Regions from separate parts of the Homo sapiens genome. Here region 2 is linked to region 1. Evidence: promoter capture Hi-C in 16 types of primary human blood cells and fetal thymus (Javierre and others, 2016). All regions are on one chromosome and are shown on one strand. Each heading gives the region's core, a stretch centred on a gene start or on the middle of the fragment in contact. The rest is flanking DNA. Distances are from core to core; before and after follow the strand shown.

Region 1 (3,066 bases), core at 470-2,969:
TTTCCATCAGCAGCTGATATCTTTGTAGTTGCTCTAGAGCAGAGGGCTCAGTCTTTTCAATCTTGTGGTCCCTTTACACTCTTAAGAATTATTGAGAACCACCAGGAATTTTTGTTAATGTGGATGGGTTATATCTAGCTATATTTATATATTTTAAGTTAAGGCTAAGGAATTTAAAAATATTCATTTATTGATTCATTTTAAGATAGTGATGCACCTATTTCATGCTAACACCAATAACTTATTTTTATGGAAAAAAAACAACAAAATGAAAACAGCGCTTTAGTTCACATTTTTGCAAATCTCTGTAATACCTGGTTGAAACGGAGACAGTGGGAGTCTCCTCACTGCTTCTGCATTTGCAGAACCACACCCCACACTCTTGGGAGCATGAGAATGAGAAGGGCAAGTAACACAGAGGGTCATTAGATAAATGGTTTTGACCTTATGGACTCTCTGAAAGGAATAGGAAGTCCTCAGGGGTCCCCTGCATCGAGGCCTCCCTGATCAAGGGAGCCAAGCTCCAAGGGTTGCTGGGGAGCTGGAGGAGGTGAGATGGGGCAGAGAGGCCGTTGTCACCAAAAGCGTGTTTAGGCTCCATTCACTTCACCCCAGGTGGCCTACTGAGCCCACATGGCCACCAGCGCAACTGAAGCAGACCCCGATAGAATCCTGTGTAGAATTATTTTAGGATTCACCCATCTTGGCATGCACAAGCCATTTCAATTGAAGAATGTTTTCTAATAACAAAACATTGTAAACCTAAGTATGTGGCAATAGTAATGATTAAGTAAATTATGGTTTCCCGAAGCCCAGTGCTCTGCAGCCATCAGAGAGTAAAAGCGAGAATGTGTTCAGTGGAGATAGCCTCAGGATATTTAAAAGCAGAGAGCACAAAGTATAGAATCGTGTTGTGTATGTTATGACCTTTTTTTCTGTGCTTTTGAAAAAGAGAATACACGTATAGCAGGAAAAGACACACCAAACTACTTTATATAATTGGTTGTTTTTGTGTTTGGTAAGATGTATGCACTGAAGAGGAAGGTTTCGATTTTTTTTTTTTTTTTTTTTTTTTTTTTGAGACAGGGCTTTGCTCTGTCGCCCAGGCTGGAGTGCAGTGGCGCGATCTCAGCTCACTGCAGCCTCGACCGCCCCGGCTCAAGCGATCCTCCCACCTCAGCTGTCCCAGTAGCTAGAACTACAGGGGCGCCACCACGCCTGGCGAATTTTTTGTAGAGATGGGTTCTCTCCAGGTGGCCCAGGCTGGTTCTGAACTCCCGGGCTCAAGGGATCTTCCTGCTTCAGCTTCCCAAAGTGCGGGGATTACCGGCGTGAGCCACCGCGTCCCGCCTGTTTTTAATTTTTAGCAGTTTTAAATCTTCTGGCAATGAGTAATGTTATAGTGTCCCAGATGTTTGGTCCTTTAAGAAAAGGATAGCAGGACGGGTTATCTCGGTGGGAGCGTGTTCCACCTCTGCCCTCCGCCAGCCGCCCTCGCCGGGGATGCACCCAGGTATTTTCCTCCGGATGCGTGAGTGGCTCGCCCGCGGACACGCCAGCCCCGCCCCGCGAGCCCGGTTTCCCCGCCCCCTCCCCGCCCACGCCCTGCGCTCCCTTCCTATTGGTCCCATGCCGCGCTTTCCCGTTCAATCGCAGCGCTTAGCGCCAGAATTTGAATCTTCGTTTTCGTTTGAATTGGGCGGGCGCGCCGGGCTGGAAGAAGGAAGTGGAGGGCTGACGCTGCGGGCGGGCGGGCGGGCGGGAGGACTCGACTCGGTGGGAGCCGCTAGAGCCGGGCGCCCGGGGACGTAGCCTGTAGGGCCACCGGGTCCCCGTCAGAGGCGGCGGCGGGAGCAGCGGGGACTGCAGGCCGGGGTGCAGCGAACGCGACCCCGCGGGCTGCGGCCCGGTGTGTGCGGAGCGTGGCGGGCGCAGCTTACCGGGCGGAGGTGAGCGCGGCGCCGGCTCCTCCTGCGGCGGACTTTGGGTGCGACTTGACGAGCGGTGGTTCGACAAGTGGCCTTGCGGGCCGGATCGTCCCAGGTGAGCTGCGGCCGGGACTCCTGGGAGCTGTCCGGGGTCGAGGGCTGAGCCGCGGGGACCCCCCGAGCTCTGCGGGGACGGGCAGGGGACAGACGCGCGGCCTGGGCCCGACTCCTCCTGGGCTCTGGCGAGGGCGTCTCGGTGGAAGCTCCCAGGAGGCGCAGGCGCTGGCGACAACACCCCAGCTGCCGGACTTTGGGGCGCCGGGGGCTGCGGTCGGATCGTCCTGGGGTCCCCGCTAGCTAGCTGCGGTGTGCGCTTCTGTGGCCGGGGATAGGTGAATTGGGCACGGGGCCCTTCTTAGCTCCTTTGCTATCAGAGTAACTCGCACCTCTTTTGCAGTGGAAGAGTTGTAAATTTGCTTCTGGCCTTCCCCTACGGATTATACCTGGCCTTCCCCTACGGATTATACTCAACTTACTGTTTAGAAAATGTGGCCCACGAGACGCCTGGTTACTATCAAAAGGAGCGGGGTCGACGGTCCCCACTTTCCCCTGAGCCTCAGCACCTGCTTGTTTGGAAGGTGAGCCCCGCGGGCGCGCGCGGACGTTTTAGCTGAGAAAGAGGAAAATACCTTAGTCACAGAATAAAGTCCAGAAACGCGCTCTAGGATTGGGTCCTGCCGTCACTTTTCCTTGGTGCTTCTCCCATTCGTTACTAAGTTGACATAGTTGTGTTTTTTTGTTTTGTAAGTATAAATTTGATGCTAGTTTGTATGTTTAAGTGGTTTTAAAAATCAAGCCAATTAAAAAAATCGATTTGCTAATGTTGCGGTAAAGAAAGATGTAGATGATCTTCATATGTCACTGGCTGCAGGCAGGCGTCTGAAGACACTGTGCGCCCCCGGGTGCCTCCACAGTGGGCATCCCTGGCCACTGGGGACACAGAGAATGAAGGAAGGAAGCCATACACTTGTCTCTTGGCTCCTTGTGGCAATAGGAAAATGGGACAGAAAGTCTTCCTGCCTGGAATTCGAGAACGTTTCCTCTTATATTGCTGTCCTGTTTGGTGGTGGTAATAACC
Region 2 (3,164 bases), core at 509-3,008, 250 kb after region 1:
TCTTATGGCAGAGCTGAGTGTCAGAGGTTAAGGGACTTTGTTACACAATCAGATATACTCACCTGAATGCCAGAGTCCCTTGCCTAAGCTACTTGTATGATGATGGTTCACCCCAGTCAATCAAACCAAGGTAAACCAATTGGTACTTATGGCCAGGGTAAAGAGATAGATTATTTTTACTTTTGCTCATGCAACTAAGAAAGTACGAGAAGCAGTGGCTTCAGACACAGCTCGAGTCAAGGTCTCGGCCTGTGTCGTGAGGACTGTTTCCTGCCATTGCTCCATCTATTGAAATCCTCAGCGTTGACTCCATCATTCATTAATTGGCCAGATCAATCCTCTTGAAGATAAGATGACTGCTGGCCACTCTGGGCTCATTGCTGATGGTGGCAGCCCCAGGAGAAAAAAATTTCTCATTTCCTCCAAATTCAGAGAAAGTCCTGGGCTACTTTGCACTGGCATTGCCCTTCTCCCATCCCTTGACCAATCTCTGTGGCTGGCAGGGTTGAATTCCCCAAGCCATCCACTAATGGGCCAAGGCTACCTGCCCATCCTGGAGCTGGGGCTGGAATCGGCCCTTCCCCAGCCGCAGGGGTGAGTGGGGAAGGAAGCCTGCATTCCTGGAGGGAAAACAGGCGCCAGGACCAGAGTAGAGGGCCAGGTGTGGCGCCGGCCGAACAACAGGGACCCAGCATTGCTGTGTCTACAGCCTGCAGGGTTCAAAGTCCACTGCCTTTGCCACTAGGCTGTGGCTCCATATCTCTGCTCCTCCGCAGCAGAGTATGGGCTGGCTTTGCATATAGCAGAGGCCTCATGCATGTTTGTGAAGGAAAACATGAGAAACAGGGACCTGAGAGCCTCCCCGTAGCCCTGCCTACTCCTATCCACAAAGAATTGTTGGACGGAGAGGGAATTCCTGCCACCTTCCTTTCCTGGCTCAGGAGCAAGTTCTAACACACAGAGGGAGGCTGTGAGGTGGGCAGAAAACAACCTGAGAGGTTGATGTGTAAGGAGCAGATTGCATTCTGATGCCTGCCTGGGAGAAGGCCTCAGCACAGCTTAGCTTCCTCTAAATGCCCCTTGAGGCCTCTTGACCCTAACAGTGTTGATAGGCCTGACTTTTGCCCAAAGTAGCCCTTTGGGGGTTCCTGATTTTCTCACAGGAGCTTTGAGGGTTGGAGAACTTACTGAAACTCTCAGTTTCCAGGAGGCTCAGCCTGCAGAAGGGCTTGTATACAGAGATGTCTTAATTCTTGCCTTGGGTCATGGCTGTGGGACAGCATGATCAGACTGACTTCTGGGAGTCCTGGGGCCAGAAGGAAGTGCTCCAAACTCCTAGCGGCTGGTTTTGAACTACCTCTGCTTGGCCAGCAGATGTTGGGTAGGGAAGGAAGTGGGTTTCCTGGCTTGTTTCTGACAGAAAGAAGCAGGTTCTGCTTTGAGGAGACAAACAGCAGTCTCACTTCCTAGGTTCCCGTGACCTCTGACCTCAGCCTACCTTCTACACCACACTGACCTGATGAGGCTGTATCCTGGCCTCAGGGGATAAAATTGTCCCCTGAGAGAAGCTTGGAGCCAGAGACAACTTTGCAGACTGCCTGTTCCAAATACATTTGTGTCTCATCTGAGGAACTCAGAGAGTGGAAAGTGATCAGGAGGTCACAGGGCCCGATGGTCACAGGCCAGGACAGAAGCCAGGGTCCGTGAGCCTTCCGAAGCTCCTCATCTACCCCGGGGCTTCCTCCAGCCCCTATAAATCCTTCTGTCCCAGAGGCTGGAGAAGCCTGGCAGGTAGAGGCTCTGGGCATCTCATCACTAAAGGGGACTCAGGTTTGCATTTTGTGTCTGTGTGTCGGCCCCTCCCCATTCAAATCAAAGTTCTAGGCAGCCCGCTCTGGAAAAAAGCATTTAGACTATATACATCCTGCCCCTTTATGATTAAGCTTTTATAAGAAACTTCACAAGAGGAAAATGAAAGATAATTAAGGCTGTGAGGCACCTGGAGAGCTTCAGAGGGTCAGGGCTTTTGTACGGACAAATTATTAAGAAATAAAACCATTACATTGAGGATGAAGATCTGTCATCAAGGAGTGTTTAAAACATTCTCCTCATACAAAACCCCTCTAATTAAGGCCTTTTGATGGACCGTTTGGAAAGTTTCCCTGGGTGTGGGTTATAGCAGGATACATTTGATGTCCACTGAGTTCCGGGTACATGGCGGCAGACGGAGTCTCAAAGGGCTTCCGTGGCCAGGATCCCCTGGCGGCCCCCGTGCGTATCAGACCTCACTGGGTGAGCCTGCTCACCGGCCTCATCACAGATCCTGGAACATAGGCATCCTTATCCTCCAAAACCTTTCTTTTAACAGCTTTATTGACACATGAGTCACACACCATACAATTCACCCATTAAAGTATACAATTCCATGGTTTTTTGTATGTTCTCAGACATGGGCAAGGCTTACCACTGCCAATTTTAGAATATTTTGATCACCTTGAAAAGAAACCCCATGCCCTTTAGCTATCACCCCCTCCCAGCCCACTTCCAGCACTAGGCAACCGCGAAAGCCCTAATCTACATTTTTTTTTTTGTCTCTATCTCATTCCCTTTGAAAGATGAGGAATGAGGCTCAGAAAGGCTACATGACTTGTTCAAGTTCATCTAGCTGGGATTTCCAATCCTGTTCTCTCTGACTCCAGAACTACGTTCTTTTAACTAGACAAAAGTGGCTCTCCCAAGTCTATACTGAAGAATGTTCTTTAGGGCTCGGCAGAGTAGCTCACACTCGGCACTTTTGGAGGCCGAGGCAGGTGGATCACTTGAGTCCAGGAGTTCGAGACTAGCCTGGGCAACATAGAAAAAGCCGGTCTCCATAAAAAATTAGTCAAGCATGGTGGCATATACCTGTAGTCTCAGCTAGTCAGGAGGCTGAGGTGGTAGGATCAATGGAGCCTGGGAGGTGGAGGTTCAGTAAGCTGAGATTGTACCACTGCACTTCAGAGCCCAGGGGAGAGTGAGACCCCATCTCAAAACAAACAAAAAAGAATGTTTTCTAGTGGAGGATATTGTGAAGAATAAAAAAGGGAAGACATAAACATGCAATAAGTTCTCTTCTCTAATGAGTTTTGTAAGGAGATTCCTCCTGATTAGACACTTGCCAGTGG

The links. Contacts are between HindIII fragments. The CHiCAGO score rates a contact against its expected background, and 5 or more counts as called.
Region 2: a fragment that was not itself captured here is called in contact with the fragment with the promoter of MKI67 in region 1 in 1 of 17 cell types (monocytes); the score reaches 6.8 in monocytes.

Annotation. Positions count from the first base shown.
Region 1 is chr10:128,125,076-128,128,141 of GRCh38, reverse strand. It overlaps MKI67 (marker of proliferation Ki-67), which reads left to right and starts at 1,719. Exons shown (of 15, transcript NM_002417.5): 1 at 1,719-2,043; 2 at 2,386-2,566. The coding sequence starts at 2,475. RefSeq lists an enhancer at 1,230-1,459 and a silencer at 1,570-1,939. The HindIII fragment of the contact is 8,920 bases long and covers 1-3,066 here.
Region 2 is chr10:127,878,992-127,882,155 of GRCh38, reverse strand. All of the region lies in intron 2 of CLRN3 (clarin 3), which reads left to right. Among named protein-coding and RNA genes, the nearest start is that of CLRN3, 12 kb to the left of the region's middle. The HindIII fragment of the contact is 375 bases long and covers 1,571-1,945 here.